Regions from separate parts of the Homo sapiens genome. Here regions 2 and 3 are each linked to region 1. The links are contacts of gene promoters, found by promoter capture Hi-C in blood cells and fetal thymus (Javierre and others, 2016). All regions are on one chromosome and are shown on one strand. Each heading gives the region's core, a stretch centred on a gene start or on the middle of the fragment in contact. The rest is flanking DNA. Distances are from core to core; before and after follow the strand shown. Region 1 holds the start of RBM6 (RNA binding motif protein 6). Region 2 overlaps BSN (bassoon presynaptic cytomatrix protein). Region 3 overlaps DAG1 (dystroglycan 1).

Region 1 (3,526 bases), core at 342-2,841:
CACCCGCCTCGGCCTCCCAAAGTGCTAGGATTACAAGCGTGAGGCACTGCGCCCGGCCTCTTTCTTTCTTTCCTTTTTTCTGAGACGGAGTCTTGCTCTATTGTCCAGGCTGGAGTGCAGTGACACAGTCTAGGCTCACTGCAATCTCTGCCTCCCGGGTTTAAGTGATTCTCCTGCCTCAGCCTCCCGAGTAGCTGGGATTACAGGCGCCTGCCACCAAGCCCGGGTAATTTTTTTTTTTTTTTGCGACAGTCTCCCTCTGTCGCCTAGGCTGGAGTGCAGTGGCGCTATCTCGACTCACTGCAAGCTCCGCCTCCCGGGTTCACGTCATTCTCCTGCCTCAGCCTCCTGAGTAGCTGGGACTACAGGTGCCCGCCACCACGCTCCACTAATTTTTTGTGTTTTTAGTAGAGACAGGGTTTCATCGTGTTAGCCAGGATGGTCTTGATCTCCTGACCTCGTGATCCACCCGCCTCGGCCTCCCACAGTGCTGGGATTACAGTCGTGAGCCACTGCGCCCAACTTCTTTCTTTCTTTCTTTCTTTTGAGACGGAGTCTTGCGCTGTTGCCAGGCAACAGTGCAGTGGCGCGATCTCGGCTCACTGCAACCTGTGCTTCCCGGGTTCAAGCAATTCTCTGCCTCAGCCTCCTGAGTAGCTGGGATTACAGGCATGCGCCACCACGCCTGGCTACTTTTTGTATTTTTAGTAGCGATGGGGTTTCACTATCTTGGCCAGGCTGGTCTTGAACTCCTGACCTCGTGATCCACCCACCTCGGCCTCCCAAAGTGCTAGGATTACAAGCATGAGCCACTGCGCCCGGCCTTTTTCTTTCTTTCTTTTTTTCTGAGGTGGAGTCTTGCTCTATTGTCCAGGCTGGAGTGCAGTGGCACAGTGTCGGCTCACTGCAACCTCTGCCTCTGCCTCCCGGGTTTAAGTGATTCTCCTGCCTCAGCCTCCCGAGTAGCTGGGATTACAGGCACCTGCCACCAAGCCCGGGTAATTTTTGTATTTTTGGTAGAGATGGGGTTTCACCATGTTGGCCAGGCTGGTCTAGAACTCCTGACCTCAGGTGGTCCACTCGCCGCGGCCTACCAAAGTGCTGGGATTACAGGCGTGAGCCACCGCGCCCCGCCAACCAGCTGGAGATGGCTTAAACTTACTCCCGAAGAAGCTCCCTTCCATTTCTCTCACACTAACGGACAATAAGGAGGCCTCGAGCTAGGCAGGCCAGGGCCGTACCCGAGCTGCTGGCAGGGAGCAAACCTCAGGAAAGTCAAGCCACCAAAAAACTGTAAGCCTCAATCAACTGAGAGGAAAGCACAAGAGGACCAGGTGTCACAGGGCAGAGGCCAAACCACAACTCCCAGCAGGTCACGCGGAGTAGGGCGGGTAAGCGCGCCTTCTTATTGGATGGCGATGGACAGCGTGCTCTTACGACCCACCCCAGAAGGCAAGTCCCCTGCGCGCGGGGCACGGCGGGAGTAAGAGTCTGCGGGACCGGCAGCTGTACTTCATCTCCCAGCGGGCCGAGCGCTGAAGGCAGCGGCGCGGCGCCTTTGTGGTAGCAGTGGCCCCGCGCGGAGGAAGTTCCGGTGTCCGCGGCGCTGGGTCGGTGGCGGAGGCTGAGGAGAAGGAGGAGCGGGCCGTGGAGGCTTCGCCGCCTAGGTAAGGGCCCGGGACTGGAGGGGAGGCGTGCCAGAGCCTGCCAGGGAATAGCCAGCAGACAGGCCCGCTCTAGACATCGCAGGCCCGCGCAGCCTGAAAGCTGTGGCTTCAGTGTCGCGGGGCGGCTGCGGCCTCGCTCGGGAAGAAGACCAAGCAACGGTGAGATGAGGGAGGCGCCGCCCGTGGCAGGAACGCCCCGGAACCGTCGCGGGCCTGGGGCGGGGCCCGGCGCGGCAGTAGATTACCGGTCCCGCCGCGGAGCGGCCAGCTGTGAGGCTGGGGCCGGCGCGTGGTTGCGGCTCTGTGCTCCTACTCTTCGGAGCTGTAAGCGGGCTGTTCTTGCGGTTTTCCTGTTTCAGATCCAATTCTGTGGCATCACTAGGAAGGGAGCTCTTGTGCTTAGCACGTAGCCTCGTCCTCAGACTTGGACAGACACAAGGGAGGCTCCGCTGGACCGGAGGGCACAAGAGCTCCGAGCCCGGTCGTCGGGGCGGTAGAACCTGGAAGCGGGAGAGTGGTCTGGTGGGTTCTGCGCCCGTTAGGCAATGAAGGAGAAGGATGTTTTATCGTATTCACGCTTTAGATTCCATTAGCGGTGTAAATAGATGTTTTTCTCTTTATTTTAGAATTGACGTTAGGCGAATGGGTTCAACTTTGGGAATGCCTTTTTTTTTTTTTTTTTTTTGAAGGAAGGGCCCTGTTTCGTAGGGTACATAAACCGTGAGCGTAATTGTATTTTTTGCATATTCCAGGTTTGCTTGTGAAGGTCAGAGTAGCCGGATTTAAGTGAAGGAGTTCAGTAGACATGCAGACATGGTCACCTGGTTCATTTTCTGAACCCTGGATTGTGCCCTCGGCTTGCTAGTTTCCACCTTCCTATTGAGAAATGCCACCAGCGTGAATGATTTAAATATGTCACCATTACTGAATTTGTGAGGTCTCTAACGAGAGGTGTCAAGAGCTGGTGCGTGATGGTAGGACTGGCAGTGAAGAAAGTAACTAAATAATATGTTACCATTTTGGTGAAACACAAAAGTTGAATTTGAACCTTGTCTCAGAAACTAGCATCTAACTAGATACCTAACCTGCAGGACAGGTCCCAGGTCTCTCTGGATAGTTGTAGCACCTTTCCTTATAGAATTCTATTACCAGGCCGAGCCTGGTGGCTCACACCTGTAATCCCAGCACTTTGGGAGGCTGAGGTGGGGAGTTCGAGACCAGCCTGACTAACATGGAGAAACCGCGTCTCTACTAAAAGTACAAAATTAGCCGGGCATGGTGGCACATGCCTGTAATCCCAGCTACTTGGGAGGCTGAGGCAGGAGAATCGCTTGAACCTGGGAGGCGGAGGTTGCGGTGAGCTGAGATTGCTCCATTGCACTCCAGCCTGGGCCACAAGAGTGAAACTCTGTCTCAAAAAAAAAAAAAAAAAAAAAAAAAAAAAACCCGCAAAACTCAACAAAAACCAACATAGTAGAGGCAGCGTTTCGCCTTATGCCCAGCTAATTTTTTGTATTTTTTTAGTAGAGGCGGAGTTTCGCTATGTTGGCCAGGCTGGTCTTGAACTACTGACCTCAGGTGATCCACCTGCCTTGGCCTCCCAAAGTGCTGGGATTACAGGCGTGAGCCACCGTGCCCGGCCCTGTTATAGTATTTCTAAAACAAATTGTGAGCCTGGGCAACATCGCAAAACCCTGTCTCTACAAAAAATACAAAAAAAAAAAATTAGCCAGGCGTGGTGGCATGCTCCTGTTAGCCCTAACTACTCAGGAGGCTGAGATGGAAAAATCGCTTGAGCCGGGGAGGTAGAGGTTGTAGTAAGGGGAGATAGTGCCACTGCACTCCAACCTGGGCCACAG
Region 2 (4,023 bases), core at 1,064-3,563, 370 kb before region 1:
TCTTCTTACGGAGATGAGAGACACACAAGAGGGTGTGCCTAACCTCACAGCACATTTCAAGCCTCTGACCTGATGACACATCTGCTAACATTCCTGTAGTCAAGCAATTCATGGTTAAGCCCAAGTCAAGGAGTTGTATTGCAGTTACTATGGCTGTGTAACATGTTAACCCAAAACTTAGTAGTGGAAAACAGCCACTATTCTGGTCACAGATTCTGCAGGTCAGGAATTTGGGCAGAGCACAGTAGAATGGAGTGTGTTTCTACTTCACAATGTCTGGAGTTTCAGCTGGAAGACTTGAAGGCCAGAGATTAGAATCTTCTGAAGGCTCATCAATTATATGTTTGAGAGTCGATGCTGGCTGTTAGCTGGGAGCCCCAGGGCTTCTCCATATGATTTCTCCATGTGGGCTCATTTGGGCTGCCTCATAGCATGGTTGCTGAGTTCCAAGGGTGGGGAGAGGGCAAGGTAGGGGTTGGGAGACAGGTGGAAGACCGTACTGACTTTTATGATTTAGTCTTAAGAGACATGCAGTGTCACTTCTGCCACATTCTGTTTACTAACACAGTCACAAGATCCTGCCTAGGTTTAAAAGGAGGGGACGTGGACTCTGTCAGTACATGTGGGACTGGAAATCTTGCTGAGACCATTTTTGGAAAATACAGTCTGCCACAGCTGGAAAAAATATATTCTGCCTCTAGTTGGAGGAACTGCAAAGACACATGGCAGAGAACAGAAATCGATGGAAAGTAAAGAATTGAAAACAACAATGGCATATACCGTACTTTTTTAAAATTTAATTTTTAAAAATTATATAAAGCTTTCCTATGATTCCAAATAAAACAAGATATATTGAGAGAAGTCTAATTCCATCTTGTTCCCTCTACTTTATTCTCTTTGCCTTTCTGATAAGAAACAGTTTTTATCAGATTTTTCCCACTGTTTCTTTTTGCAAATTTAAGGGAAAAATATATTTGTTTACCTTTCTTTTTTATGTAAAAGGTAGCAGACTCTAAGTACTCTTCTGTACTTTGCTTTTTTCCATGTAATCAATCTTGAAGATCACCCTGTAGCAGAATATAGAAATCCTCCTGATTCCTTTTTGCATCTGCACTGTGCCTCACCATGTGGATATGCCATGGTTTATCTATGGACATTGGGCTGTGTCCAGTCTTTTGCTCTTACAAAAAGAAGCACAGTGAGGAATCTGGAAAATGTGGCATTTTGTAATTTTACCAGTGTGTCTGTGCGATAGTTTCCTAGAAGTAGGATTGCTGAAGCAAAATGGTAAATGTATAAGTTGTTTTTCTCTGTGTTGCTAAGACTGAGAGCCAAAGGCAGAAGCAATAATATTCAGGCATGAGAGGATGATCATGGTGGGGTGCGGGGTTTTGCAGGACAGGGAGGTGGGAAGGGGCTGAGTAGTAAGAGTGATGAAAAGTGCTCAACTTCTGAATATATTCTGGAAATTGAGCCAGAAGGATTGCTGAATGGTTGGCTGTGAAGAGTTGAAGAGAGGAGTCAGGAGGAGCTCTGAGTTTTGGCCTGGGCATCTGGTGTACACAGGGAGGAGGAGGAATGGGCCTAGACCAGGAGTTTGTTCTTGGACAAGTTGTTTTTTAGAGGCACCCAAGTGAGATGTTAGGTAGGCAGCTGGGTATTCAAGTCTGGGTTGGAAAAATAAAGTAGCACTTCACCTGCAAGTGCTTTAATATTAATGCCACCTGGTTCCTACAAGTACCCTGAAAAAGAGATAAGGGAGAGGAGGAAATTGAGGCAATACTAGGGTTCCAAGAGAGTGAATCAAGTGCATTCAATTAAACAAATATTTACCTTATCAAATGAAACATTGGAAATGAAAGCACTCAGCATGAGGCCTGCCATTAAGTGCCTACTAGTTGATGTCAGGTTCCATGCCCAGGGCTGAGGATAGAAAGATGAACAGGTAGATTATGCCCTTATTTATTACCCTAGATCATGTTTGAGTTAAACTTGATTGAGGGTATAGTTCCTGACCTCTGGGAGCTCTGACTCAGTGGGGGACGCTTGGAGGGCTCAGGGGCCTACTGTCGTCCATCCTCATCTTCACAGACAGCTGCTAAAACAGATTATAGAATTTAAGGCTCAGACTGGGCAGTTCACTTGAAAGGCCTGGCTCATTCTATTGGCTCTAGAATCTGCAGCTAGTCAGAGATGAAGCTCAGGCCACCAGAGCCACAGAGAAAAGTCTCTCACTATAGGAAAAGTGTCACTTTGACTCTTTAGCCCTCACTCCTGTTCAGTAAACTTCATGAAGCCAGGTGGAGGGTGTTGGCCTTCAGCTGGAGTGACAGTCGTGTGGGACAGGCGCCCCTTGACAGATTTTGAGTATTGGGAAGAGGGCAGGAGGGAGGGAGTTCCAGGTCTGGGGCTGCTGCTCTGGGGTTGTGATTTGCTGTTGGGCAGCTGAGCAGAGATATCATAATTTGACTTTGGGATGTATATTTCTCTGGACTTAGGGATCAGGATGCAGGCTGTAGCACACGAAGCTGGCTCGGAAGCCAACAGACTGGAATAGGACTTTCCCAATGGCCAAGCACTCATCTCTGCTCCCCTCCTGTGCTGAAAGCACTTTTTGCAAATGATGGTACTTAGCACTGATTGCCTGGCAGCCTAAGATACACCACCCATAGAGCAGAGTCAGAAGGGGGTTTCCTGCCAGGGCACTTTTGGGGAGCTATGATGCAGGCTAAGCCAGTGGAAGAAAGGGAGGAAGGGAGCAGACAGAACAGGGAGGCTTGATCTGGTGCTCCCAACAGACCCGGTTTGCCACTTTGCCTGCCTCCACTCCGCCCCTTCCTCCCCAGCTTTATTAGGGTGAGTGTTGGAGCCCACCCAAGGGTCCATGCTGTCATTGGTACTTTGCACCTACATGGCCATTCTGTTGTTTACTTTGGTTTGAGCCGTGGAAACAGAGACTGAAGAGCAGCAGGCACCAGCCTCTGTGCTGTCCCTACTCAGGCCCCCAGTTGGGGGTGAGGAGCCCTGGGAAGACCATCCAAAGTTCCAGGGGCAGACGCCAGAGCTACACAATCACCTCCTTTTCTAGATAGTAAGAAACAAAGAAAAACCTCTACACCCCTGAGTGTTGAGTGAGGAAAGCAAACATGTTCTCCCTGTATTCAAATTAGCCAGAGAGCCTGGTGGGGACTCTTGGGGGCAACACCTTCCCTTCCAATGCCAAGGCAATACCTCCCCTTCCAGGCTCACTCCTCTGAGCCTGCCTGGTAGTGCAAATAACTTGTTTTCAGAGGCAAGAAGAAAGAGGAAACTAGAAGTTTTGCCTTTTTGGAAAGCATCCTGTGCTACCTGCAGTCCCACATGAACACTGACTCTGGGGCTCCCAGGCCTGTGAAATGGAGTGGAAGTGACCCCAGGAGTACCAGAGCTGAGCCTTCCAGCAAAGTTTGGCAGGGAATGTGGGCCTCAGTCACACTCCTTCAGCTTCCTTTTCCTTAGTCCCTACTAGTGGCTCAGGAAAAAACAAGAAGTTCAGATAGCGACAGGCATTGCTTTTGAAAAGATAGTAACAGTACTTAGTAGTAACTGAGGAATTTTAAAAATACACTGTGCTTTTTTTTTAATTCTGTGTAGCTCTGGCCAATAGAGAGTTAAGAGCACTGGTGGGATGGAAATACTAATTCCAGAGAGGTAGTGGGCATTTCCAAGCATCCCACAGCAAGTCAGGGGCAGGACAGGGAAGAGGAGCCTGGGTTTCCTAGCTCCAGCCTCTGCTTGGTGAATCTCCCTGGCTACTTTGGAATAAGAAAGCTTTCATGTGTCCAGTGAAGGGTCAGGGCATCCAGTGGGTAAGAATGGCATACTTCCTGCCCCTGTTGCAGGGCACAGGCCTCTGGGTAGAGTAGACTGGGGTTGGGGAGACGGGGGTGGGCAGCTTCAAGTAGCTTTGGGGTATAAGGCTCCAGGGCCAGAAGAGCCCAGGACTCATAGGATGGAGTTTGGTGGCAAAGCCTCTGCCACAGT
Region 3 (3,613 bases), core at 60-2,559, 430 kb before region 1:
CCTCAGCTTCCTCAGTAGCTGGGATTACAGGCACCCACCACCATGCCCGGCTAATTTTCATATTTTTAGTAGAGATGGGATTTTACCATGTTGGCCAGGCTGGTTTCAAACTCCTTACCTCAAGTCATCCACCCACCCTAGTCTCCCAAGATGCCAGGATCATAGGCGTGAGCCACGGTGCCCGTCTTGTTTAATACATTTCTTTATTATTTATTCTTTGTTAATACTTATTGTTTACTTAATATATTTTATTGAATGTATCTGACTGTATTCAAAATATTACTAATACATATCATTTCAGTTTGCAATCAATATTTTAAAAGTATTAATGAGGCATTTTACATTCATTTTTTATGAAGTTTTCAAAATCCAGTGTATATTTTATATTTAATGGATCAGCTACATTTCCAGTGCTAAGGAGTTGCACGAAACTGTTGGTTTCTGTATAAGAGACCATGGGGGTAAGAGGCTTGATCCAACTCGGGGTAGATGTTTTTGACAGTAACTCCTGGAGGATAGTATGTGACTGAACCACTGGAATTGCTCAAGTCTAAACCTGCTTTTCTTTTTTTTTCAGGCTCTGTGTGCTCCGGGATGGAGCAGGTGTGCAGAGGGTGAGAACCCAGCTCTGGGACCAAGTCACTTGCTTCCTTACTTAGCAAGACTATCGACTTGAGCAAACTTGGACCTGGGATGAGGATGTCTGTGGGCCTCTCGCTGCTGCTGCCCCTCTCGGGGAGGACCTTTCTCCTCCTGCTCTCTGTGGTTATGGCTCAGTCCCACTGGCCCAGTGAACCCTCAGAGGCTGTCAGGGACTGGGAAAACCAGCTTGAGGCATCCATGCACTCAGTGCTCTCAGACCTCCACGAGGCTGTTCCCACAGTGGTTGGCATTCCTGATGGCACGGCTGTCGTCGGGCGCTCATTTCGAGTGACCATTCCAACAGATTTGATTGCCTCCAGTGGAGATATCATCAAGGTGAGACTGGATATAAAGCATAAATGAGGAAGAGTTCTCATTTTCCATTTTAGTTTTGGTGGCTTTTCCTTTTCAAGTCTAAGCTTCACCAATTCTGAGCTCAGTTCTTCCAGTACCCCCTTAGAAGAGGGACAGCCACTGATGTTCATAAGAGAATCCCTATATACTCAGAATAGCATCCTAAACTGTATTCTTGTTCCTATTCTGAGGGCATCACCATGTAATAGCCTTTACTCTGGAAGTTCTACTGAACACTGATTTAGGGATTTGTTGGAAAGGTCTGTCACGTGTATAGGGAAAGGTTACCTTTAATAAAACACAGAGTTAAACCCCAAAAAATAGGACTTTTATGCTTTGAACTTACTTTTTAAAATAAGATATAAATAAATATAGGAGTTCTGCTCTGATTTGCTGATGTATGTTGGCTAATGTAATTGATCACTTAAGAACCAAAATTAGTACCCAAACTTCAGCCTTGCCCCATATCCTTTGGAGAAGCCATCCAGAGAACAATGGAATCTGAGGCCCGTGTAGAGAAGAGTGTCTTGGTTGACCCAGGATAGAAATCAGGTGAAATAGGAAGCTTTTGTGTGATGAAGCACCATCTCTCTGTCTGAGTTTGTGGAACCATGGAATTTCCCCTAGATCTTAAATGAGTTTGTTTCATGGACAGGTGGGTGGGATGTACCCCTCAAGTTATGAACATCTTCTAGAGCAGAAGTCAGCACACTTCACCCAAGCTGGAGTGCACTGGCATGATCATGTCTCACTGTAGCCTTGACCTCCCAGGCTCAAGTGATCCTCCCACCTCAGCCTCCCAAGTAGCTGGGACTATAAGCACATATCAGCACACCTGGCTAATTTTTGTACTTTTTGTAGAGATAGGGTTTTGTCATGTTGCTCAAGCTAGTCTTGAACTCCTGAGCTCAAGCCATCTTCCTGCCTTGGCCTCCCAAAGTGCTGGGATTGCAGGCATGCACCACTGCACCAAGCTCCAGGCAGTAAATATTTTAGGCTTTGCAGGCCATATGGTTTCTGTCAGAACTCCTCGACTCTGCCTGTGTAGTGTTAAAGTAGCCTTTACAATATATAAATCAATGGGCAATAAAACTTTACGGTGGATACTTTTTCTTTTTTAATTTTTTACACTTATAGTCCCATTCTGACTTGAAACAGATTTTTGAATTTCATATGTCAAGAAAGAAATATTCTTTTACAATTTTTTTTTTTGAGGCAGGGTCTTGCTCTGTTGTTCAGGCTGGAGTGCAGTGGTACAGCCATGGCTCTCTGCAGCCTTAACCTCCCAGGCTTAAGCCTTCTTCCCTCTTCAGCCTCCCAAGTAGCTGGGACTACAGGTGTGCACCACCACACCCAGCTAATTTATTTATTTATTTATTTTTGAGACAGAGTTTCGCTCTTGTCGCCCAGGCTGGAGTGCAATGGCACAATCTTGGCTCACTGCAACCTCCGCCTCCTGGGTTCAAGTGATTCTCCTGCCTCAGCCTCCTCAGTAGCTAGGATTACAGGCGCACGTCACCACGCCCAGCTAATTTTTAAATTTTAATTTATTTTAATTAATTAATTAATTTTGAGATGAAGTCTCTCTCTGTCACCCAAGCTGGAATGCAATGACACAATCTCAGCTCACTGCAACCTCCATCTCCCAGATTCAAGTGATTCTCCTGCCTCAGCCTCCCAAGTAGCTGGGATTACAGGTGCGCACCACCATGCCCGGCTAATTTTTGTATTTTTAGTACTGACGGGGTTTCACCATGTTGGCCAGGCTGGTCTCAAACTCCTTATCTCGGGTGATCTGTCTGCCTCAGCCTCGCAACACCCAGCTAATTAAAAAAAAATTTTTTTTTAGTTTGGGCGTGATGACTTACACCTGTAATCCTAGCACTTTGGGAGGCTGAGGGAGGCAGATTGCTTGAGCCCAGGAGTTTGAGACCAGCCTGGGCAACATGGTGAAACCCCAACTCTACAAAAAATACAAAAATTAGTTACAAAAAATTTTTTTTAGATAGGGTCTTACTCTGTCTGCCAGGCTGGTCTCAAACTTCTGGTTCCTGCCCTACAGCATTCCTTCTCTAGAGGTGTGGCCTACATGTGAACTAAAAGTATTCTGAGACCTATACTTTGTTAGGTATTTTCTGTATGATCTCTGCATTCAGACTTCTACATACATTTAGTGCTCTGGCTTTCTGTTGGTGTGTTTAAACCACCAAAACAGTGGTTTAACTCAACCAGCTTGTTTTACTCAACATTTTTTGGCCAGGAATTCAGAGATAAGGAACCTTATCTCTGTTTCACATGGTACTAGGTAGAGTGGCTCACCTGGGGCTGGGGAATTCACTTCTAAGTTGGCTCATTCATGGCTGGCAAGTTGATGCTGCCTGTTGACAGGGAGCTTAGCTGGGGCTGTTGGTCAGTGTCCTTGATTCCTCTTCATGTAGACCTCTCCATGGGCTGCTTAGGTGTCCTCAAAGCACGATAGATGGATTTTAAGATTAGGTATTTCAAGAAATAGGAAAGGAAGCTGCCCAATCTCTTAAGGCCCAGAACTTGCCCAACAACACTTCCATTTTACTCCATTGGTCAAAGCACATATAGACTCTGATGGGTGTTTACCAGC

What was found. The method cuts DNA at HindIII sites, captures the fragments that hold promoters and counts their contacts. A CHiCAGO score of 5 or more calls a contact.
Region 2: a fragment that was not itself captured here is called in contact with the fragment with the promoter of RBM6 in region 1 in 2 of 17 cell types (M2 macrophages and M1 macrophages); the score reaches 5.2 in M2 macrophages.
Region 3: a fragment that was not itself captured here is called in contact with the fragment with the promoter of RBM6 in region 1 in 1 of 17 cell types (erythroblasts); the score reaches 6.0 in erythroblasts.

Annotation. Positions count from the first base shown.
Region 1 is chr3:49,938,559-49,942,084 of GRCh38, forward strand. RBM6 (RNA binding motif protein 6) reads left to right here and starts at 1,592. Exons shown (of 21, transcript NM_005777.3): 1 at 1,592-1,667. RefSeq lists enhancers at 1,222-1,744, 1,453-1,512, 1,543-1,592, 1,623-1,682, 1,745-2,266 and a silencer at 1,823-2,022. The HindIII fragment of the contact is 18,872 bases long and covers 1-3,526 here.
Region 2 is chr3:49,567,551-49,571,573 of GRCh38, forward strand. All of the region lies in intron 1 of BSN (bassoon presynaptic cytomatrix protein), which reads left to right. Among named protein-coding and RNA genes, the nearest start is that of BSN, 15 kb to the left of the region's middle. The HindIII fragment of the contact is 2,990 bases long and covers 819-3,808 here.
Region 3 is chr3:49,509,842-49,513,454 of GRCh38, forward strand. It overlaps DAG1 (dystroglycan 1), which reads left to right. Exons shown (of 3, transcript NM_004393.6): 2 at 578-978. The coding sequence starts at 694. Among named protein-coding and RNA genes, the nearest start is that of DAG1, 41 kb to the left of the region's middle. The HindIII fragment of the contact is 500 bases long and covers 1,060-1,559 here.